6 separate regions of the Homo sapiens genome follow, and all the other regions are linked to region 5. The links are contacts of gene promoters, found by promoter capture Hi-C in blood cells and fetal thymus (Javierre and others, 2016). All regions are on one chromosome and are shown on one strand. The core of a region is centred on a gene start or on the middle of the fragment in contact, and the rest is flanking DNA. Distances in the headings are between cores, read along the strand shown. Region 1 has its middle 5.1 kb from the start of PFDN4. Region 2 has its middle 130 kb from the start of DOK5. Region 3 overlaps VAPB (VAMP associated protein B and C). Region 4 overlaps ATP5F1E (ATP synthase F1 subunit epsilon). Region 5 holds the start of AURKA (aurora kinase A). Region 6 overlaps STX16 (syntaxin 16).

Evidence for each region. Contacts are between HindIII fragments. The CHiCAGO score rates a contact against its expected background, and 5 or more counts as called.
Region 1: a contact is called between a fragment that was not itself captured here and the fragment with the promoter of AURKA in region 5, in 1 of 17 cell types (M0 macrophages). The highest score is 7.7, in M0 macrophages.
Region 2: a contact is called between a fragment that was not itself captured here and the fragment with the promoter of AURKA in region 5, in 1 of 17 cell types (endothelial precursors). The highest score is 6.2, in endothelial precursors.
Region 3: a fragment that was not itself captured here is called in contact with the fragment with the promoter of AURKA in region 5 in 2 of 17 cell types (activated CD4 T cells and naive CD4 T cells); the score reaches 5.4 in activated CD4 T cells.
Region 4: a contact is called between a fragment that was not itself captured here and the fragment with the promoter of AURKA in region 5, in 1 of 17 cell types (total CD8 T cells). The highest score is 7.6, in total CD8 T cells.
Region 6: a contact is called between a fragment that was not itself captured here and the fragment with the promoter of AURKA in region 5, in 9 of 17 cell types (total B cells, activated CD4 T cells, naive B cells and 6 more). The highest score is 15.0, in total B cells.

The regions. Positions count from the first base shown.
Region 1 is chr20:54,200,896-54,205,021 of GRCh38, reverse strand. No RefSeq gene overlaps it. Among named protein-coding and RNA genes, the nearest start is that of PFDN4, 5.1 kb to the left of the region's middle. The HindIII fragment of the contact is 5,383 bases long and covers 1-4,126 here.
Region 2 is chr20:54,340,168-54,344,040 of GRCh38, reverse strand. No RefSeq gene overlaps it. Among named protein-coding and RNA genes, the nearest start is that of DOK5, 130 kb to the left of the region's middle. The HindIII fragment of the contact is 2,012 bases long and covers 1,138-3,149 here.
Region 3 is chr20:58,402,446-58,406,706 of GRCh38, reverse strand. The region is part of intron 1 of VAPB (VAMP associated protein B and C); the gene reads right to left. Among named protein-coding and RNA genes, the nearest start is that of VAPB, 15 kb to the right of the region's middle. The HindIII fragment of the contact is 5,875 bases long and covers 1-4,261 here.
Region 4 is chr20:59,027,527-59,031,239 of GRCh38, reverse strand. ATP5F1E (ATP synthase F1 subunit epsilon) reads left to right here. Exons shown (of 3, transcript NM_006886.4): 2 at 811-937; 3 at 2,399-3,713. The coding sequence ends at 934. SLMO2-ATP5E (SLMO2-ATP5E readthrough) reads left to right here. Exons shown (of 6, transcript NR_037930.1): 5 at 811-937; 6 at 2,399-2,562. Among named protein-coding and RNA genes, the nearest start is that of ATP5F1E, 3.0 kb to the left of the region's middle. RefSeq lists an enhancer at 1,896-2,426. The HindIII fragment of the contact is 696 bases long and covers 1,718-2,413 here.
Region 5 is chr20:56,389,652-56,393,464 of GRCh38, reverse strand. AURKA (aurora kinase A) reads left to right here and starts at 1,250. Exons shown (of 9, transcript NM_198437.3): 1 at 1,250-1,297. It overlaps CSTF1 (cleavage stimulation factor subunit 1), which reads right to left and starts at 820. Exons shown (of 6, transcript NM_001324.3): 1 at 752-820. RefSeq lists an enhancer at 865-1,104. The HindIII fragment of the contact is 5,454 bases long and covers 983-3,813 here.
Region 6 is chr20:58,656,027-58,660,032 of GRCh38, reverse strand. STX16 (syntaxin 16) reads right to left here. Exons shown (of 9, transcript NM_001001433.3): 2 at 399-410. It overlaps STX16-NPEPL1 (STX16-NPEPL1 readthrough (NMD candidate)), which reads right to left. Exons shown (of 23, transcript NR_037945.1): 2 at 399-410. Among named protein-coding and RNA genes, the nearest start is that of STX16, 6.7 kb to the right of the region's middle. The HindIII fragment of the contact is 309 bases long and covers 1,728-2,036 here.

The DNA.
Region 1 (4,126 bases), core at 549-3,048, 2.2 Mb after region 5:
CTGACTTGCATGAGTAAAGTGTTTAAGACTCAATAAAGGGCTTACTGGAGCCAGACTGCCTGCGTTCAAATCATACCTGCACCACTTTCTAATTTTGATGTTAGACAAGTTACTTTCATGGCAAAAATAATAATGTGTCTCTAATAGGCTTGTTGCAAAGAGTAGAAGAGATAATACGTGCAAATAAAATGCATTGTAAGCTCTCAGGAAATGTTAGCTATGATTACTTTCTCAGTTCAGCCCAGTTGCGTCTGAAATTCCACTGCCCAAGTTATGATCTTTCAAATCTCCTCTTCAAGAACTCCCCTGGCTTGGTATTACTGCTAACTACCCCCATGGCCATGATTAGTGCTGCCTTTTGAGACTGTAGCATCCATTTCAGATGTGTAGAAATTGGAAAGCATCCTGGGGGAGAAGAATGACAATGGTTAGAAGCCATCCCAGCCGGAATCTTTAAAGCAGACCCCAAGGCAAAGGCCTAGATACTGCTTCTTCATTAAGGAGTACAATCCCAGGGCAGCCAGAGCGAGGAAAAAGCGGAATGAAGCAGGTCAGGGAAGGCAGCAGAGCCCATACCAGGAGGCCTCACCAAGCCGACCTTTGCTTGGTATCAAGCACGACTGGTTGCTCCCTCTCTGGGGACTGTCCTGTAAGAGGCTGTGTTAACCAGAACACAGGAGAGTTCAGCTGGGGAGAACTCTTATTTGCCAGTTCCTGCCTCCCATTCAAAGGCTGGCCCCACGGGGACCTCACTCCCAGACACTTCCAGGTTGCTCATTGAGGCTCCCATAATTTTTCTCACCTCAGCCTTCCACAGGGAAGCCCCCAGGTGGAGGAACAAGGTGTGAGGCTGTAAGCACGAGCCAACTGGACGGAGAGGCAGCCCTGCAAGTCTGCACACCATGGCCGGTGTGGAGCTGGTCACTGTGGGAGCTGCTGGGGTGGAGCAGGTGGCCAATGGCAGGTGAGAACAAAGACAGGTTAAACCAAGAGGCTTTAACATGACACATCCTTAGGTGCTGTCTAACACTGAGGCCCATAAAATCAGCCAAGAAGTTCAGGTTATAACATACTGAAGAGTCAGTGAATTAAATTCTTTTAGGACTTTAAAATTACATTGGACAAACCACAGAATGAGAGAAAATATTTGCAAACTAAATATTTAGTTTAATATTTAATTAAGAAATAAGGCAAGAAAAAAGGGATTAACAGCCAGAGTATATGAGGAGCACAAACAACTCAATAGGAAAAAAACTAATAGTCCAGTTTAAAAATGGGCAAAAGATCTGAATAGACATTCTTCTAAAGCAGGCATACAAATGGCAAATGGAGATATGAAAAGGTGCTCGACATCACTGAACATCAGAGAAATGCAAATCCAAACTCCAATGAGATATCAGCTCATCCCAGCTAAAAATTGCTTTTTCCAAAAGACAGACAATAACAAATGCCAGAGAGGATGTGGAGAAAAGGGAACCCTCATACGCTGTTGGTGGGAATGTAAATTAGTACAACCACTGCAAAGAACAGTAGAGAGCTTCCTCAAAAAACTAAAAATAGAGCTACCACATAATCCAGCAATTGCACTGCTAGGTATATAACCCCCAATAAGGAAATCAGTATATCGAAGAGATGTCTGCATTCCCATGTTTATTGCAGCGCTATTCACAATAGCCAAGATTCAGAAACAACCTAAGTGTCCATCAACAGACGAATGGATAAAGAGTTGGTGGGAGTGTAAATTAGTTCAACCATTATGGAAGAAAGTGTGGTGATTCCTGAAGGATCTAGAACCAGAAATACCATTTGACCCAGCAATCCCATTACTGGGTATATACTCAAAGGATTATAAATCATTCTACTATAAAGACACATGCACAGATATGTTTATTGCAGCACAATTTACAATAGCAAAGACTTGGAACCAACCCAAATGCCCATCAATGATAGACTGGATAAAGAAAATGTGGCACATACACACCATGAAATACTATGCAGCCATAAAAAAGAATGAGATCATGTCCTTTGCAGGGACATGGATTAAACTGGAAGCCATAATTCTCAGCAAAGTAACACAGGAACAGAAAACAAAATGCCACACATTCTCACTCGTAAGTGGGAGTTGAACAATGAGAACACATGGACACAGAGAGGGGAACATCACACACCAGGGCCTGTCAGGGGTAGGGGGCAAGGGGAGGGATAGCATTAGAACAAATACCTAATGCATGCAGGGCTTAAAACCTAGATGAAGGTTGATGGGTGCAGCAAACCACCATGGCACATATACCTATGTAACAAACCTGCACGTTCTGCACATGTATCCCAGAACTTAAAGTAAAATGAAAATACAAAAGAAAATGTGGCACCTATACACAACGGAGTACTATTCAGCCATAAAAAAAAGAAAGAATGAGAGCCTGTCATTTGCTATAACATGGATAAAACTGGAAGACATTATGTTAGGTGAAATAAGCTAGGCACAAAAAGACAGATGTTGCGTGTTCTCACTGATTTGTGGGAGCTAAAAGCCTTAAAACAACTGAACCCATGGAAATGGAGAGTAGGATGGTTACCAGAGGCTGAAAAGGGTACTAGGGGACGGGGAAGTGGGAATGGTTAATGGGTATAAAAATTAGTCATCTAGAATGAATGAGATCTAATATTTGATAGCACAACAGGGTGACTACAGTCAACAATAATTTATTGTACATTTTAAAATAACTAAAAGAGTGTAACCGAGTTGTTTGTAACACAAAGGATAAATGCCTGAGGTGATGGATGCACTATTTACCCTGATGTGATTTTTTTTTTTTTTTTTGAGACAGAGTTTTGCTCTTGTTGCTCAGGCTGGAGTGCAATGGCGTGATCTTGGCTCACCACAACCTCCACCTCCCGGGTTCAAGGGATTCTCCTGCCTCAGCCTCCCGAGTAGTTGAGATTACAGGCTTGCGCCACCACACCCAGTGAATTTTGTATTTTTAGTAGAGGCGGGGTTTTGCCATGTTGGTCAGGCTGGTCTCAAACTCCAACCTCAGCTGATCCATCTGCCTTGGCCTCCCAAAGTGCTGGGATTACAGGTGTGAGCCACGGTACCCGGCCCCTGATGTGATTATTACACATTGTATGCCCATATCAAAATATCTCAGGTACCCCATAAATATTTATGCCTACTGTGTACCCACAACATTAAAAATAAATACATAAATGTAAATAACAATAATAAAATAAAATCAGATTGGTCCAAATGCTAATACATGTGCTGCCAAGAAACCCTGAGAAGCCTGCCTCATGCAGGGCCCACTTATTCATCACCATGCTTCCTTAATGTCCAAGTGCCTGGTTAGCTAGTCACTGAGCTGAGAAATTGCACCAGGAGACAGGGGCTCCAGAGACAGAAGGGCTAGGGGGCACTGTCTCCTCTAACAGGTGATATGGAGGTAGGGGCTGGATCCCTTTGGCTGGGCTCAAAGAAGCCATGGCTCCAATCGGATGCTCTATGAGGCTTTGGCTGCTCCATCATTATCATGAGATGGTGCACGCTTCTCCATGCATTAGTTCCCCACACAGACCATACAAAAGCAGAGAGAAAAGGCACTGGGCAGAGAGTCTGCGGGCACAGGGCAGTGTCATTGAATCTGGACAGAGGACAGTGGCGGCTCCTGGCAGTCTTGGTGCTGACTCAGCTCCCTCTGATGCCCCTATCTTCCCCTTGCTTTAGAGGTTTTCCTTCTCATTCTATTTCTCATCATTCTTGTCCCTCTCCTCTCCCCAGACCTTGCTATCCTTTGAGCTAATCTCTCTCCTAGCAGAAAAACTCGTTCTGCAAGTCCGCATGGTACAGGGACTTTCAAGTCTGCTGAGCATCTTCTCATTTCCTGATGTGGAGCATTTCCGACCTTTGTTTCTGGTCCTTTCTCCAGCTGGGGACTGTCCCTGGCTCTCCGGGGAGAAGCATGGGGTACAAGTGGAAGCATGTGGATCCTGCAGGTCAGGGAGGAGAATCAACAATGACCATTTGGAAAGACTTTCCCTTATGCCAGGTTGAAAACTGGCCTCCCACTGACTGGATCCAGGCTATGTTTTCTTTGACCCATATGGTATTTTTCTTTAGTGGAACCAATAT
Region 2 (3,873 bases), core at 894-3,393, 2.1 Mb after region 5:
CCTCAAGGTTAGAGTATTAGCTACTAAGTATTAACTACAGTATTAACTACTAAGTTATATGGTACTTAGGGCATAACTTAGCCATGACATGTGACTCCAAAGATAAATAAGTGTTCATGGTTGAAGCAGCCTCTTTGAAAAACACCTACTTATTCCTTAAACAAGTAGTTAACAAATACTTAATTGTGTGGCAACAGTTATCCTAGATGCTGGAAGTACCAAGGTGGGCAGTGCAGAGAGGAACTCACACCATACAAAATCTTCCTGGTACAGAATCTGACTCACTATCCACTACATTGTCTACCTTGTGCCTGAACTTTTCTCAGTTTGGCAAAGGTCCGGTTATTCCCATAAGGACAAAGACATAACTATATCTCTCTTTAAAGGCTCTGAAAAGTCCTGCAATTAAGATAGTAGTTCGATGTTGGTTTCTCAATCTGCAAATGTGGATATTATCGTTTGGTATGAGTGTGCAAGAGGCTGAAGAAAATCTTAAAACACAAGCTTTGAGTAACCGGTTTGACTACGCTCCACAAGGTTTTTTCTTTCTGCTCAATTTCCAACTTCCACTTTGCATGCAACCATCACTGCACTTCTAAATGTTGATGGATGTACAGAACATTCTTTGCCAGAGACCCACTTGGGCACAGAAGTCTGGAGCAAACTAGAATATTTTATACACACACACAAAAATAAGACCTCATTCTTTCACAGGCAAAACTCCTCTGACGTCAATAGTAGGCTGGGAACAAAGGATGAAACAATAGATAGCAAATTTCAAGTAATTACCTAGCCAATGGCATAGAACGTGATTGACTGAGTCCTTGTGCTTGGCATGCAGATGATTAAATGAGTTTTAATTTGCACATCCAGTGGCAAGACTGCCAACGAATAAGAAATAGAAAAAAAGGAAGAGAGAGAAAGGAGAGCGAAGAAGGCAGGGAAGGAGGAAGGGAGTAGGATAGAAAGCGGGAGAGAGAGAGACAGAGAGAGAGAGAGAGAGAGAGAAGGAGCTCTCTATGCAAGTTCCCTGGAAATGTGGTTAACAGATTGCTAGCATACAAAACAAATAAAAATAAAAATAAAAATAAAAATAAAAATAAAAAATAAAGGTCAGCTAGATGGTTTTAAAAAGCTTTGTCAACAGATTCAAACCTGTTCAGGGACTCTGGGGTGGTAAAAGGGGGAAAATGATGCCCTCGCTATATCTGCAGAAAATGTGTGTTTGCATATTTACTGCTACAGGAATTTGAATTTCTTTTTATGCTATTTCCTAACATTTACAGATGGAGCAGAAGTGTGAGCAGTGGGGAGGCAATTTGTTTCTTCCTCAAAGGCTGCAACTCAATTCAGAGAAACAAATCCAGCTTTCAAGAGCAATTAGATTAAATTCACAATGGCTGCTCTGGGCAAGTTTGATTGTCTGCTGTGATCATTTCTTGTGCCATTTTGCAAGTAGATTGTGAAAAACAGCGATGTCATCACTTCTTCATAATGTTGTCTGAATAACCCTACCCCCACGATAATGTACTCATTGGTCAAATAAGTTAAAAAATTCTGCTTACTCTATTTGCTTCTGGAAAGTCACAATGTATGCTTGTATGTTAAAGGCTCTGAAAAGTCCTGCAGTCAAGACAGTAGTTTGACATTGGTCAATCAAGATTTGTCTAATCCCGTATGAACGCAAATGTTTTTCTGATAACCCATTTTGTTACATCTGACAGCATGGGTGTGCCCTAGAAATGTTTTAGGAAATGATGGATTATATGATTTGCTCCAGTTATCAATCACAACTTTCATATTCATTTGAAAAAATAGATCTAGACAGATTAATCAAACAAGTAATTATTAATCTGTCTCAAACGTGTATTTTCTTTCATGCATAGAAATGAGTAAGACTCATATAAATATGTTAGTTGTCAAATTATAATAGATTCCATTTATTGAGTACTCACTATGGATATATCAAGTATTTCGTTTGATCCTAATGATAACAGTAAGAAATAGACATTTTTAGCCATGTTTTATAGATGAAAAAACTAAAGTTCTGAGAATTTTAGTAATTTGCTTGCATTCAGCTAGGATATGGTAAAATCCACATTTGAACTCAGACCTCAGTTTAAATAATGTGTTTTTTCTGTATTGCTGCTTTTTCTTCTGCCTGGCATAGGCATTAAATGAGGAGGCAGGAATGAAAGGGAATGCTTACCACATTTTCTCTGACACCAGGTTTACCCACATCCTTTCTCATCTGATATATATTTAACATCTGGAATATCTGATTTTTACAATGAGGATAATGAGGTTTGTGGATTTCGAGAGCTGACATTTTATCCAGTATCAAAGTAGCTTTTGAGGAATATGATTAAAATCCAGACCCCTCCACTTTAACATTTTAATTAGGTAAAAATAAATAGTAACTTCATGACTATACACCAAATCAATGTAATATGCCATTGGTGTTAATAAAATCCAATGCCTGAGTCATAACTCTATGTAACTTAAATAATTCCACACTTTAGGAAATTTGTTTTATAATGTGCATTATAAAGAGATTAATTAACGCAAATTTTCCTTAAGTCTGTAATCACACAGACAAAAGGAAGATACTCTCTCAGTCTACATTTTTTTTCTGCTGATGAGGATGTTGGATAGATTTTTCAATTACCTGAGTTAAGAAGCAAGGCCTGGTCAACACAGTGACAACTACCTTGAACAAGGAGACCAAATTTATAGCAACCTAGAGAAGAAAACCACACAATAAGTATAAAGAAAGTTATCAGGGCAAAACATAATGAAACCTATTTTGAATTATAACTCTAGGCATCTATTAATCACTTATTGTCTTATATGTCACTCAAGAAAATGATAAATCCAGCCCTGTTCTTGGGGAGATTGCAATATATGAAGCGCTTCCTAGAGAACACTACCACTGGTCAGAAAATTTACAGTGTGGAATAAGCAAACCAAATATTATCTAAGAGGAATCTTGTGTAATCTTTGCTAGTTAGGATTTTCCTTTTTCTGGTAAAAGTACACTGAGTCAGCTCTGCAATGAGCGTACTTTCCCTGCTGGATAGAATATGGTAGAAATAACAGTGTCCTTCCTTTCCCTGGTTAAGGGATCTGGCCATGACCCAAGATAAGCTTATTGAACGCTGTTTCCTTTGAGTGTGGAATCTTGAAGGAAATGACACAGAAACAAAAAAGATCATAGGCTGATTAACTTCATCGCTGACATCCTAAAGTAACAGCCCCTCAGTTCTGGCTGTAACTCCCCCTCTCCCCGTGAGCTTTCTTTGCTCCTTGTGTTTTTCCAAACCTCAGTCTATGGCTTTCACTTGGATCCTTTTAGGTCCCTTATTTCCCTTGAATGAATTATTTTTCTGCTTAAGAGAGCAAGATACACTTTCTCTTGCTTGCCACCAAAGACCCATAATTTAAACAGTTTCAGATCTGGAACTTCAGAGAAGTATAATAATGAACAGGATAAAAACAAATACTAAAAGTAAACAAAGATAAGTCCATAGTCTGATTCCAACAAAATCATAGGCTAACCATAATTAGACATGTAGGGTAGGGAAGTATGTTAATATTTACATTGGACCAAGAAGAATTATGTCATAAGTTCTACCTCAAATGCCACTCAGAGGCAAGCACTTAGGAAGCACCCTCCTTTTGGAAATATCCATGACGTCCTGTGGGGCAAAATTTCAAGGGAGTATGGAAGAAAGAAGGAAGGAAGGAGCAGGCCAAATGGAGGTGAGAAAGGACTTTGAATTCTCTTTTTTAATGCTTTAATTTGACTTTCTTTTTCCTTTTTAGACACAGAGTATTGGTCTGTCGCCCAGGCTGGAGTGCTGGCATCATCAT
Region 3 (4,261 bases), core at 1,148-3,647, 2.0 Mb before region 5:
CAGAAGTAAAACTTCTCCAAAGTGTTCCATCTTTAGTGGAGATGACAGCATGTGAAAAAGCCTCCATACGAAAATCAACACATCCAATTCACACCAGATACAGAACAGGGGAGAAGAACAAGTTTAGCATTCTGCACCTTGATGATCCAACTGGAATTTTCAATCTGTGAACGATGAGAAACAGTAGAACGTGGTTTATCAGTTAGTGTGTAATCTGTTCTGGTTCCTTTTCAATAAAGAACCTAAGTGGCTATACCAGTGATAAGAGATTATCAACCAGGTCAGCAGCTTCTTAAACTCAAGAAGAGGCCAGGGGAAAGGCTGTGAGACTTGGATGAAAAATATTTTCTATTTTTCCCTTACTCTGCCTTTGGAAATTATGCTCATTCTTCAAAGTTTTGCTCAAACGTCTTCTCTTTTGGAAAGGTTTACCAAATCTCTTTAATCAGAAGAAATTACTCCTTACTGTTCTATGTCACAACAATAAGCTGACTGCCAAATTTATATCTGCAGCCTGGCCCTCTCCCCTGAGCTCCAGACTCAACTACCTATTTAACATCTCTCGTTGCAAGTGTACTGAGCATCTCAAGTTTCTCATGTCCAAACGGCACTCTTGAGTCCCACTCTCCTCCCTCAAACTCAATGCTTCTCATCTCAGTAAAGAAACCACCACTCACCCAACTGCTTAGGCCAAAAGCAGTCTCTCTTCCTCTACATTTAATCTACATTCCTCTATATTCCTCTACATTTAATCTAGAAACCCTGTCTCCACTAAAGATACAAAAATTACTTAGGCGTGGTGGCACATGCCTGTAGTCCCAGCTACTTGGGAAGCTGAGGCAGGAGAATTGCTTGAACTGGGAGGGGGAGGTTACAGTGAGCCGAGTGAGATCGCACCACTGCACTCCAGCCTGGGCAACAGAGCCAGTCTCCGTCTCAAAAAAAAAAAAAAAAAAAAAAAAAAGGCTCCTGGCCAGGCGTGATGGCTCACACCTGTAATCCTAGCATTTTGGGAGGCCTGAGCTCAGGAGTTTAGGAGTTCAAGACCAGCCTGGGCAACATGGTGAAACCCTGTCTACTAAAAATAAAAAAATTAGCTGGGCATAATCCCAGCTACTCAGGAGGCTGAGGCAAGAGAATTGCTTGAACCCGGGAGACAGAGGTTGCAGTGAACCGAGATCGCGCCACTACACTCCAGCCTGGGCGACAGAGCAAGACTCTGTCTCCAAAAATAAAAATAAAAATAAAAATAAACTCCTGCTCAGATTCCTCTGTGGCTTCCCATCTCACAACAAAATCCAAAGTCCCTCCTGTGGCCTGCCTACCGGCAAGGCTCCTGCCCTCTTCTTTGAGCTCATCTCCCCGCAGGCCCCTCCACCACTCTAGCACAGGCATACCTTGCTGCTCCTTGAACACACCAAGCTCATCATCACCTTGCACCTGCCCTTCCATCTGTCTGTAATGCTCTTCCCAAATGTCTCCACAGTTCATACACTCATTTTATATAGGTCTCAGTTCAAATATCACCTCCTCAGGTAAATGACCTTCCCTAATCACCCTACTTAAATGACCTTCCCTAATTACCCTACTTAAAATTGAATCCATTCCCAAATCCCTTTATCTTGCATTGTTTTTAGTTGTTTTTTTCCCATTTATCACCTACTGCCTGACACCACATCATATATATTTTCTGTTTTTATTTAATGTACACCTTCTCCACTAGAAGATGAGCTCCACAAGGTAAAAGTTTTCTCATCTCGGCCTCTCAGCAATGCTTGGCACACTACAGGTACTCAATAAGTAACCCATGAAGAGAATGGTTCAGGTGCTGTGCTAGGCTCTCAAGCTAGAGAGAGAAACAGGGCACTGCAGCTCCCACCCAGAATACACAGAACAATCTTGGGGCCCATCCAGAATTAATGAATCAGAATCTCTAGGACTGAGACTCCATAATGATTTTTTCTTTTTAAAAAAATATCAAATGTGACGTTAGCTCATATTTAACAGTACCAATCTATTCTAAGCACTTTACATGTGTTAATTTGTATACTCCTAACATACCCCAGAGGGAGAAATTTGAGGCACAGAGAGGTTAAATGCATCACTGAAGGACACATGACTTTCAGATGGCAAATCTAGGGTTCACACTCTTAACTCCTGGGCAGTATACTACCTCTAACTGCATCGAACACTGTATGAAAGGTAATCTATAAAGCATCCTATCAAAAGGGGAGGGTGAGGAGCACAGGGAACTGATCACTGAGGCAAGCCCTGGAGTCTGAAAAGCAGATAACGCAAAGTACACTTTGAGCTGTAGGGAACTTGGGTGAAAGTACAGTGTGATAACGCTATAAGGGGCTTCTGGGGGCATCAAATGGCTGAAGAGGAAGGGGTACGAGAGGGGTGAAAGAAGCTGAGGCTGGAAAGATGCGGTGTGGCCTGACTCTGAAGAGTTTTGCTGCTGGCCTAAGAATTTGGGCCACGAACCTATCCGTAAGATCTAGAGAGCCAATGAATGTTTTTAAACCAAGAAATGATATCAAATTTCAATTTTTAGAAAAATATCTCTGGAAACTGTATAAAGTATAGTCCAAAGGGTGAGAGAAGCAGGCAGAAAAAATAGAGACAGAAAGTTGAGTCACGGTGCTACTACAATAGTCTGGAAGGGAAAGGACCTATACTTAGGATACGATAGAATACTAAGAAGCAAAAGGGCATAGGAGATGCTGCTGATTTAAATGGACTGAGTAGATGTGAAAGGTTACGGAAAATGGGGAGTGAAAGACAAGTTTAGGATTTCCAGCTTGCCAACTTGGTGCAAGGGCCATTCCCAAGATCCAGAAGCCACAGTCAGTGGGGATGAGAAGGTAAACGGTAAATACAGTGTGGAACATGCTGAGTTTGAGGTGTTCTCATGACAACCAGATAGACAGGGATGTCCAGCAGGCTGACAGATCAAAAGATTTGCTTGGAGATAGAGATTTGGAAGTTTTCTGTGCAGAAGTGGAAGATGAAGGCATTATTAATGAGACAACATACAGAGAATTGTTAAATTGAGAAGACTGAAGCCAGAACCTGAGAAACCTCAACATCCAGTAAAAGAGATGATAAAGAGGTGGACAGTTCATCAGAAAAGTCAAAGACAAGTATCACAGAGAGAAACCTGGGGGAACTAAGAAGGGTTTGAGTGAAGGGGTGAGGTCTGATGAAAGAAGAGTAAAGATACCAGAAACTGAGATTCACCGCTTCCCCAAAATTAGCTGTGATAGAAGACTGGGCATTTGCTTAAGCGGGGAAGATCTAGAAAACAAGATTTCTTTTTAGGAAGGGGCAACTTAAGCATGTTTGTAGGCACAAGGAAGGAATCAAGTACAAGAGAAAAGTGAGACAGCAGTAATAGGCTAACGATGCAAAATACTGTTAAGTGATGGGAAAGGAATGGGGTAAAAGAACACACACCTAAGAGGTAGTCCTGACTCTCTGAAATAGAAGAGGAGGAGAAGTAAAAACATAAGTTTCCACAAGAGAGAAAAGCAACCAGCATTTAGTGGAAAATCTTCAAATATTTTCTGAGCAAAATGCACTGTGTCTACATCGATCGGCTGTACATAACGGGCCCTGCCGACAGGCTTCATTACTCTTCACCACTGAAAGTCTTCTTTCTTCCCCCCTCTCTCCTTTCTCAGCTTTGTTTTTGTTTTTGAGATACAGTCTTGCTCTGTCACCCAGAGTGGAGTGCAGTGGCATAATTTTGACTCACTGCAGCTTCCACCTCCTGAGTTCAAGTGATTCTCATGCCTCAGCCTCCCGAGTAGCTGGGATTATGGGCATGCACCACCACACCAGGTTAATTTCTGTATTTTTAGTAGAGATGGGGTTTCGCCATATTGCCCAGGCTCATCTCAAATTCCTGGCCTCAACTGATTCGCTTGCCTCGGAGTCCCAAAATCCTTGGATTACAGGTGTGAGCCATTGCGCCTGGCATCTTTCTCAGCTTTCTCCTAAACACCAACCCTTCCTCGCCTATGCCTTAGACCCAGAGACCATGAACTCCCTGAGAAACTGCCATGCACCATGCACTGTGCTGTGCTAGGCACTGGGATGTGGGGAGAAGAGACACAATCTAAAAAAAAAAAAAAAAAAAGGGTGGGGGGGCTTGCTGACTAACAGCGAAAGGGAGTCACGTATCACGTTGCCAATGACAACATGCTGTGACATGTGTGGGAGCCAGAGGAACAGATACAATGTGAGTGAAGAATGT
Region 4 (3,713 bases), core at 816-3,315, 2.6 Mb before region 5:
GAAAAGGTTGAACAGCCTGAAGGTCACCCAGTTAGTAAGAATGGAAGCAGGCATTGGAACTCATACCTCTGAGTCCCCAAAATAAATTCTAAAACATGAGAAAATAGCACCCCTCCCCGCTTCCTGTTTTTCAAAAGTGGGAAAGGTGATCTGACATCTTTTGGAAACTACAGTGTTGATGGGAGTCCATCTACCAAACAGGAAGCAGGTTTTACAGTTTTGCTAGAATTGATGATGTTCTCTAAGCACTTTTCAGTTTGATTTAGAAATCTTCATTAGGAGGTTATTTTCAGTGGCAGACTTGTGAGACAGAATTCAGTATTCTCAGAGAAGAGTTTAAATAATTTAGAACGAATTGTTTTAATTCAAAATAGTTTTCTCTTATGTATACCTCATTTTCCAAGAATAATATAATTAAAGTTTTAAGGAGAGAAATCGAGGAGAGAATTCATGATTCATGTTATAGTCTCTAAACATTTCAGTCTCTTTTTTTCTATGCTGTGGGATTTTTAAAAACATTTATGCATCTTTCATTTTGAATTAATATACACTAAAGAGAAAACACAGTACAAAGAAGAAAAATCAAAGATCATCCATCCAAACACCAGTTAATACTTTGGTACATTTTTTTCTAGTTCTTTTTCTTTGTATAGATACTTTTTGGCATTAGTCATATTTTTAAATCCAATTCTACAATAAGGTACAACCAAACCAAAATAAAAAGTACAGGAAGAAAAGCGAAAACACAGTAACAGCTGTCTGGCTGGAATATTGATAATTAACCATATACCTTCTCTCATTTTCTCCCAGCTACATCCGATACTCCCAGATCTGTGCAAAAGCAGTGAGAGATGCACTGAAGACAGAATTCAAAGCAAATGCTGAGAAGACTTCTGGCAGCAACGTAAAAATTGTGAAAGTAAAGAAGGAATAATCTGTAAGTTATGGATTTATTTAGAAGAACAGTTGCATCTTAAGTTTTTGGAGCACCATAAAGATCAAAATAATTTTAGTTTTGGGTTCTATTCATTTTTTAGTCAGTGTATTTGGAAGTTAGTTATTGGGATGGTATAATTTAAAGCATGCAGGTTATAGAAGTCCCCTGGCCTAATAAAAAGAAAGTCTTCTTGGGCCCTGACAAGCAGAAGTAATTGGCACATTGATTTTCAGTTCATTTAGCAATGCTTAGGTAGAGAGCCATCGTATTTGAATTAAACCTGTTTCATTTGTCTGCACAAATCAAATAATTTGGAGGATGAACTCCCCACTTGTATAATTGCAATTGGAGTTACATAACAGTCCAAGAGCATGAAAAACTACAGTTCTTTACATTTTTATTTCCCCCACAACCACTAATGTTCTCACAAATCACTACTTCCCGAACATAATAACTACAGGCACAGGCAAGGGTCCTGCTGTTGTATCAAGCAATAAAATCTGCAAGACCCCGCAGCGAATACTGTTTTGCTAATTTATTATGCTTTCAGAGGGTTTGGTTCATTTTACTTTTCCAAAGATGTTGGTGATGTAAAGTTAAATTCTCGTGAAATAAAAAGGTCTGTACAGTTGATAAGTGTAGACTTTTGTGTTCCACATTATAAAAGTGGTTTGATCTCTAAAGTACTTTCTTGACATTGTTATTTCAAAAGTAGGCAAGGCAAATTATCAGAGAGATGTTTTTCAGATTTAATTTTTCTTGTTTTGCTTTTAAAAAGCTTCAGACCCATAATAGCACAGAAATGTGATAAATATTAATCCTTTGGCAGCTTATGGTTATGAGCAATTTTACTTATTGGAACTGTCTCCCCTAAGCACTTTTCATTTTCATTTTGAATTAGTAAATATTTTATTACAAGTCTGGAGATGCAGTGTTTTGAATTTAGCCCTTTTTCTAGGGGCTCTCTGTCTAATCTCATAATTCTGAGTAATGAGACCTGGTTTTATGTTGGGTTGTTTTGTTTTAACAGTAAGCTAACAGAAAATCATTTAGCCTCACTCGGCTCAGAGCTGCCAGACTGCATCTAATGCTGAGATTTTGCAAAGTCCTGGGGGTCAGGAAGTAGTGTCCGATCCCCTTAAACAAAGCATTAGCCCCTCTCTGTTATGCCCTTCAGGGTTACAGACCCCACCTCATTAGCACAAGGAGATGTTAGTGTCTTTTAAAGGCAAAGTAGTTTCTTTATTCTGGGAGAGTGTTTACTTTTACTCAGCAGGAAAATGCCTGCTTGACTAAGCCTGTGTACTTGAACCAGCACTTTTTACATCTGAGCCACGGCAATGTGAATGATAGCCACAGTTATACAGTTCACTATAAGGAAGTTATTTCTTATATTCATGTTGAGTTTTTAAGAAAACACAGAGAACTAGCCAGCAACTTGCATTTTCTTTTTCCTCCTAGACCCTGACTAAAGCTTGAAATGCTACATTTCCAAGGTGAAGATGTGTGGGCACATGTTATGGCAGATTGAAAAGGATCTCATTCCATGGGAAAAAAAAAAATCCTGTCTTGTTCATAAATTGACAATGTCAATAAATTGAAATATGGTTCACTGTTACTCTTGATTTTAGTTTGTGAGACTTTTTCATTTTCTTTAAAGGAACTGTCTGCACAGCTGCATGATTATGGCCATGTGAACCAGGGTTTCTTAAAAGCAGGGGAAGCCAGATTTAATATTTAGTGACCAAAGGGATACAGAAAGCATTTTGAAAATGTCTCAAAATAGTTGTTTCATGACATTAATTGGTGATCAAAATTATCTGCTGTCATTGAGGCTTCGTAGTCCCTTATTTTTGAATTGTTGTCATGTCAGAATAATGACATGGTTATCAGTAACAAATGGAAATAATTATTAAATACTAAAAGTGTAGATTAGAAGAAGAAATACTAAATTGTACTTGTTTTGTATTGTGCACTTAAAGCCTATAGATAAGAACGGTTACAGAATTTAAGCACAAAGTGTTTTTCACATTGTTTTGTAAATGAATCTTTATACTCTGGTAGCATTTCTCATAGGAAATGAGGCAAAGCTATTGAATAACTTGCTCATTGAGTTGATGGCCAAACTGAAATTAAAACCTAGGAGTTTTGACTGCAAGTCTGGGACACGGTGACCACAACAGCAGTTTCGTGGTATTTCCATAGTGATTCATTCATTCATTATTTAGGGATGAAAAATTGTTGCAAGTTATGTTTTTATCTTTCTTTGAAACTTGAAAGGGCTTGGGCAAGTAAAACACCATTGCAAAGTTAACTGCCTGATTTTAACTGTTTTTGGAGACTGGAGAAATAAATTTGAACTGGAAATTTTGAAACACCATTCTAGGATCAGTTCTCACATGGTACTTAAGCTCACAATGATTTATCAGGGCCACTGTCAGCAATGCCGAGGATAAGCCGAAAAGAACATCTTTGTTCTCGGCTTCTGGGAATGACTTATTGTCCCGACACTTGACCTGTAGGTTTTACTGAATTCTCAGCACAGAGCGAGCAGGGAGGCAGAGCCAATTGAGTGGAAGAGGGTGCCTCTGGAAAACAGCAGGTTAGGAGCCCTTGGAGTCCTCCGCCTCGGAGCTGTCATCCTGCTGTTGGCAAGTTAGGGCACCTCAGTTCAGTGCTGTGGCCCCCAAGATTAAGGTACTAGGAAGTATCCTCCATTACAGGGAACAGGAATAAATGAATCAAAAAGCTATCGGGCCTTTTTGACATGGGACGA
Region 5 (3,813 bases), core at 1-2,500:
AAATCACAAGTGGGTAGTCTGGCAAAGAAAAGTTGATGAGAGATTCTACTGTTAACGTTGGGTTAATATGACTCGAATAATTTCCGTATGCTAGCTCAATGCTTTACATGCACATCCTGTTTACCCTGCAGTAATCTGTTAATTCGTCTTATGTGAATTTAACTCTTAGTCCTAATAAGGTACCTGGAAGGATGGAGGGAAGCCATTTTTGGTTCCCCTACACCACTGTTCTATCCGGTCTCTTCACTTCTGCTGAGCACATCCCGGGTGTACATACACACACACACACACACATATGTGTGTGTATATATATGTATATGTGTGTGTGTGTGTATATATATATATATTTTAAGTGGCCCACCCCTAACTTCTCAACTCCCACAGAACGTTCACTCGCCAGGTAAACAGAAGCCTAATTATCCCCAATTTGCAGGTGAGCACACGAGGACAAGAACCCGATCCAGGACCGGATACATCGCAGTTGGAAAGGCTAGAACACAGATGCCCCCTCACTATATGCGCCGCGACCATCTGGATGCAGAGGCGAACTAAGGACTGGGTGGGAATGGAAGCGAGGCCCTTCGAGAAGAGGAAGGGGTGCAGGCCAAGCCGGGCAACTTAGGAAACGCAAAGTAGAGGCGCATGCCACCTTGCTAACTCTCGACTCTTCCAGTCTCGCCCCAGTCGTTTCTGTGGTTTTCTCTAAATGCCCCAGCCGACCGCACCAGCTACTCTCCCCGTGTCCCAGTACCAGCTGGTCCGGTTCTCTTGGTATCCCGCTCTCTCCTGGAAAAATGGAGGCGCGAATCCTGCCCAATCTACCGCTCCGAGCGCACGTTCACTGCGCACGCTGAAAGGGCGCCAAGCCGACCGCTGCGCTATCGATCGGTCCCACTCTCTCTTGCTTTTCTCGCCATCTTACTTACTGGCACGTTCAAAGGTTAGTTCACCTCCTTGGACTTTATCTCCAATGCGTCAAGCTTGACGTCAAGGGGCTGTTGCTTCACCGATAAATGGCCGACCGCGGAGAGCACCCTGGGGCTGGGACTGCCACAGGTCTGGCTGGCCGTTGGCTCCACCACTTCCGGGTTCTTAGGGAGCAAGTGCGCCTGCGCGCGGTGTGCGCCCTTAAACGCGACTCAAGGCGTCGGGTTTGTTGTCAACCAATCACAAGGCAGCCTCGCTCGAGCGCAGGCCAATCGGCTTTCTAGCTAGAGGGTTTAACTCCTATTTAAAAAGAAGAACCTTTGAATTCTAACGGCTGAGCTCTTGGAAGACTTGGGTCCTTGGGTCGCAGGTGGGAGCCGACGGGTGGGTAGACCGTGGGGGATATCTCAGTGGCGGACGAGGACGGCGGGGACAAGGGGCGGCTGGTCGGAGTGGCGGAGCGTCAAGTCCCCTGTCGGTTCCTCCGTCCCTGAGTGTCCTTGGCGCTGCCTTGTGCCCGCCCAGCGCCTTTGCATCCGCTCCTGGGCACCGAGGCGCCCTGTAGGATACTGCTTGTTACTTATTACAGCTAGAGGTACAAGGGGTTTGTTGAGTGGTGTTGACATGCGCGGGAGGGGTGGGTGGGCTTCAGATTGGATTTTGTCCTCCGAGATCACCTGGGTAAGAAAAGCACAGAAGGTCTCTGCTGTGTTGGAGTTCACGTTCTAGTGGGTGGGGAGACAGACGGTAAGCGTACGGAGAACTTGCAGCTGGGGTGGGTGTTACAGAGGAAAAGCAGGAGTGCGGTTTAACGGGGGCCGCTTTAGATAGAATAGCCTAAGAAGGCCCTTGTCCTGGCTGGATGAGTGGGTGAATTGATGAATGAGAACCTCCTTGCAGAGGCCTTCCCGGTCCGTACTTCTCAGACCGTAGACCTTGGAGCAGTTGTACCGGGATAACTTGCAGTGCTTGTTAAACATATAGCTCCACCGAGAGCCCGGTAAATCAGAATCTCTGAGGGGTAGGACCCAGGTGTCTAGTTATTAACAAACTCTCCAGATGATTCTTAGGTTTCATTGAGAACTAGGGATGCAGACCGGTGCATACAAATCGTCTGGGGACGTTAAAATGCAGAATCTGTTTTTTTAGACCTGGGGTTAGGCCTCAGAGTCTCCATTTCTAAGAACCATCCGGCTGAGGTAGACGTAGCCACTGTCCTTAACTCTCGTAATGTCTCTTCCTCTTCCGTAACCTTCCTTGTCCCTTGAATTAAACGTTTTTCAGCAACCTACTCAGTTCGTCCTTCCCTTCATCTCTGCAGACATGCACAGGTCTGAGGGAGGAAGGAATAAACCGTATAAACCTCCTGCGCTATTAGCCTAACAGCTTTTCTATTCAAAATAGTAGGACTTCTGGTTTGAACTGAATGGATCCTGTGAAAGTCATCTGGTTCTTCAATCTGGTTGCAGATTAGAGTCACCTGAAGGGCAGTCTCCTTGGCGTTGTCTCCAGAATTCTGGATTAGAATCTTATTCCATTCTGCTTGTTATTCAATTTCCCTAGAAAGAAAGGTAGAATAAATTGGAGCAAATGCCTGTAGCTTCTGTCAGAAGAATGTTGAATAAATGTTGTTAGGCCTATGTGATCTCATTAGACTGCTACTTAGAATTGTAAGGGAAGTAAAGCATTAGAGCATGTGTGAAATTAAATATTTGATTAACACAAGTGTGCATTTCCTTGTTGCTGTTTATCAACTTTTACTTACCCACTGTTTTTTTATAAGGGCTGCAGCCTGTAGTCTGGGCCTGGCTTCATCATGGAATTATTTGCTTAATTGTAAAATGGTAATCTTAATTTTTTTTTTTGAGACAGGGTCTCACTCCATTGCCCAGGCCAGAGTGCGGGGATATTTGATAAGAAACTTCAGTGAAGGCCGGGCGCGGTGGCTCATGCCCGTAATCCCAGCATTTTCGGAGGCCGAGGTGGGTGGATCACCTGAGGTCGGGAGTTCCAGACCAGCCCTACCAACATAGAGAAACCCTGTCTCTACTAAAAATACAAAATCAGCTGGGCGTGGTGGTGCATGTCTGTAATCCCAGCTACTCTGGAGGCTGAGGCAGGAGAATTGCTTGAACCCAGGAGGTGGAGGTTGCGGGTGAGCCGAGATTGCGCCATTGCACTCCAGCCTGGGCAACAAGAGCAAACTCTATCTCAAAAAAAAAAAAAAAGAAACCTCAGTGAAATGAAAGACTGAACTACACACCTGGGGGAAAAGCGTAATAAAGGGAGCAAGAAGTGCAAATGCTTATGGCAGGGGACTTATTTGCAGAAAGAAAGCCTTGTGTGGCTGGTACACGGTTGACAAGAAGAGGAGATGAAGTCAGAGAGGTAGTTAGGGTCCATGTTCTGTGAGACTTCAATAGGCCTGTCTATGCAGGTTAGGAGTTTGCATTGTTTTGATTGAGTTGGGAGCCATGGGGGTCTTCTGAACTGAGGATCAACACATCTGATTTGTTAATGAGATTGCCGGCCTCAGTGTTAAGAATGGACCATGACAGGGTAAGGGTGGAAGTGGGGAGGCCATTGGGAGGCTGTTGGAAAAAACTCAAGGGAGAGAGAATAATGGTTTGACCAGGTGGTAGTAGTAGAGGTGGTGAGCAGTGATCTTGAAGGCAGAGCCTACAGAATATGCTGGTGGATTAAATGAAGGGTTTGCGAGAGAGAACCTCGTAAAGGGTTATTATGCCAAGGCTTTTGGCCTGAGCAACTGACAGGATGGGTTTGCCATGCACTGAGATGAGGATGTCTAGAGACTAGATTTGGGGAGGTGAGAGTGGGGAGAGATTAGGACTTCTGTTTGGGACATGTTAGAATGGAGATGCCGCT
Region 6 (4,006 bases), core at 633-3,132, 2.3 Mb before region 5:
CATTTAGGGCCTTCACAGACATGCTGGCCTTCTATACTGTCTACCTGAGGAAGTGCACGACTCACTTCTCAGAAATCAGGAAGCTACAGACATTAATTCTCAAAACATTCTGGCTTCCTTGAAGAAAGTGTTCAACCTTTACTGCTTCCAAAGTTAAGACACTTTCCCAAGACTAGTAAACGATCTTCCCAAAGCCTTTTTTAAATCATCAGTTCACATGGTGTGAAAATAGATTAAATTCTACATATTAAACTGTTAAAAAAATTATAAAGTAATCAAAACAAATGCTAAATATGTATAAGCTGTTAGCATTTTATATATGAGCAAAGACTTCAGGAAAAGTAGGTATTTTATAAACTCAAATTACCCAACATATAAAAATATTCAAAACACAATACCTCGTCCAGCTCCTGAAGAGACATGTTGTCCCCATCAGTCCCATCCAGTTGGGGAAAGCACAAAGAAAGCAGCATGGGACAGACAGACAGACAAGGCATGGTCAGTTGAGAAAACACTGAGATTTTAAGCTGACTAAATATAAAGATCCACTAAGCAAGGCATTTTAAAATCTCCTTTTTTTTTTTTAAATTAAGCTACATCAATATATGCTTTAATTTTTATTTACTGTGGTTGTTTTGAAAATGAGCTAGGAAACAAGCAAAAAATGACTGTAAATATTAAAATACACTGGAAACAGATAAAACACACTTGCTTTGGTTTCACTAAAATATGCTGTTAATCTGTTTCATAAACACCAAATATCACATACAATACCACATTCTATTTTCCCTCAGGAAAATAAAATAAGAGAGCAGAGCTAAAATGTAATTTTATCATGTTAAATAAATGTATATTTTAACATGTAAATCAGACCTGCAAATGCAACAAAATTAAAAAATAAATGACCCACAAAAATTGTCTGTAGCTGTATTCAGATAACATGTGAGTGACCACATATGTAAGGTCTCTGCAAATTACATCCCGCAGACACGGCTTCATCCCTGGTAGTAAGAGAGCTGAGAAACCACTCTTTCCCGGAGAGAGACACAGGTGGCAAAATAAAAGAAAAACTCTTACCATCTCTTGGTATGTATTATTATTAGCTAGAAAGCATACAGTTATTCATAAGGCTCTTATAAAAGCAAGCAAACGAGACAAAACAAAAGGTAAGAATAATTTTTTTCTTTTAAGGGGAGGGGGAAGGGAGAAGCATGACACCAGAGGGTTAAGTTTCAATTGAAAAGTAAAGGTTCTTTTTTAGATCAACATGGAACTCTATCTTCTGGACAGACATTTACTAATGACAGATAATCTAAACAACTAGGTCTTTTTTTTGTACAGTATTGATCACTGAAATAATTAGTGGTGAAATTCAATAATCAATTGTGTTTTTTTATGTTTAGCAGTAAATTTAGAAAATAAAACATAACTTTCTTATTTAAAAATAGTGCAAATGAAGCTGCTCTATCAGGGTCAAAATATTATTAAACAATGATAGCAATAAAAATGTAATCAAACTTTACTCCACGTAAAAATTCAATTAGATGACATTATGAAAAGCTGCAAATCCTCTTCATTCCTTCCACAATTTTCTATGAGAGCAAAAAAGAACTCTATACACACCCTGCCATAATAGTAGTACTAGACGATATTAATAAATCAAATGGAAAGCTGATTTAATTACCTTTTACTTTACAAAGAAAAAATGTTTTTATTTTTTAAAAGCTTAACATTAAGAGAACATTAAAATCTTTTATTAATAAAACATGATGCAAGACAAAATCCCTAACTTGAGTATCTCAGTCTTCTTCCTATTCTGCAGCGGCTCCCTGGCATTTAATCTTTGAACGATGTACTATTGCAAACCTCGGTTAAAATCTCTGCTGCACATGTGCCTATGCTCTTGGATTATTAACCGAGCACACACACCCTGATCTTCTGATTTCTACAATTATTAGTTGATAAGAGGTGAAATCAGAATCATGGGATTCTAGGGCTAGAAATAAGTCTTTTCTTACAAATAAGAAAACTAAGCTTCAAAATGTATAAATGCATTGCTTGAAGCCACAGAGCTTGTTAATGGTCAGACTGGGGACAGACCCAGGTGTTCAGGTCTCTTTCCACCCCACCCTCCAGCCTCTCTAATTTTATTAACAATTCAGGGAATTACTTGTGATAGGCAGCTACCACCACATCAGGAATATTAAATTAAGGTCACCTTTTCAAAGACCCTCCCCACCATTCTGCTATTTAAAAATAGAAGGCTTTCAAAATTCTGTCTGCCACCAAATTACCAGGAAATTTAGTCAAGACCTGAATTAAAACATTTAGAATTACCATCAAGAAAGACCAAAATAAAGCCAAATGAAAACACGTTACTACACATCATCACCTTCTAAATCTTTATAATGTCTAAATCTAGGTTTTTGACCTTCCAATGGCATGCAATCAAGCAAACACTGAAAACTCCAAGTAGCATGTGGAATTTATAGTCTAAAGAACTTTCTACATAAAACTGAAAAATAAGTGGAAACCCATCTGTGTTTACTCAGGAAGTCTGGAAAAGTTGAGCAAAATGAGTTGGAAACACAGGTCTATGCTATAGTGATATTTACTTTATTTCCGTTACTGCCAAAATAAAAGTTTGCTTCACTTTTATCCAACAAAGTACCCTTATTCTCAAAGTAAGCCTCACTGCTCCCATGGAATCTTTAAAAGCAGAAAAGCAAGTAGATCTAAAGAGAAATATATAATGATTTCATACTTGGATTCTAAAGACAGAGAACTAATTTTCCAACAGACTCAGCTTGTACTAAAACTTAGAATCTTCAATCTGCAAGTTAAAATTGACTATGTAAGGTTCATAAAGTGAGATAAAGAAAGATGCTAGCCTATTGCAAGAAAAAAAATTGTTTTAAAACAATAGGTCCTTCCATTTTCCAGGATCTGCAGCACAAGTTCTGAAAATGCAGCCAACACCAGAGTGGCCCAGGAGGTGAGCACGGGGCTCTGAAGCCAGATTTGCCAGAGTTCCAATCACAGCCCCCAGCCATCAGGTGGGTGACACTGGGCCAGTTTCCTACCTCCTCTAAAATCTGTTTCCTTATCTGTATCTGAGAAAAACAATAGTACTTATTTGATAGAGCACTGTGAAGATGAGCTGAGCTTACACACGGAAAGGGCTTAGCCCAGAGCCAGGCACAAAGTAAACTCTCCATAAATCTTAGCTAATATTGTAGTCAAGCCTGAATAAGGACCTCAGGTTTCTTATAACCATAGTTAATCCTTAATTTCCTTTTTCCTAAAGCACACATTTTATTAAAAATAATGTGCTTATGTTTCAAACTAATCTAAGACCAATTAACGCTAGCTTCCAATTATAGATTATGCATTATTTTAAAGCAGAGTATAGATTAGGCAGTAAACACTAACAAAGTAGCTCCAACCCCTATATTAGATCCATTCCCGGAGATCGAAGGAAACCACACAAATCCATACAGAATTTCATCAGATCAGAAGAGCATCTCAATATCTACCTTTCATTCATTTCTTTATGACTTTACAATTTGTTTTGAATAATTGTTTAGCTTCATAAATCCATTTCAGTTTCCTAAAGCCAAGCTGCTTGAATGAGTTGCTACCTTAAAACCTGCACTTGGCTGGCATAATAATGTGAAAGTTACTTTTGCACAGTACTGGGGCTACTTCTAAGGATTTCTGTCAGTAACCTTGGACTGACAGCTACAACACTGTTGACTATGAATTTCTCCTTTTCAAATTAAAGCTAAAGTCAGGAGAAACAATGTATTAAAACAGAACTTGAGAAAATACTGTTGAATCGATAGGGCTGCTGGAAATCACCTAACCCAAACCCCTCAGTTTACAAATGAGGCAAAAAATGTCCGAAAAGATTAAAGGCTTGCCTAAGGACACACTCTGAGCCTGCAGCAGAACAGGACTTAGGCCTCAATTCTCAGATTCAATTCTCAGTGCTCTTTCCTTTATT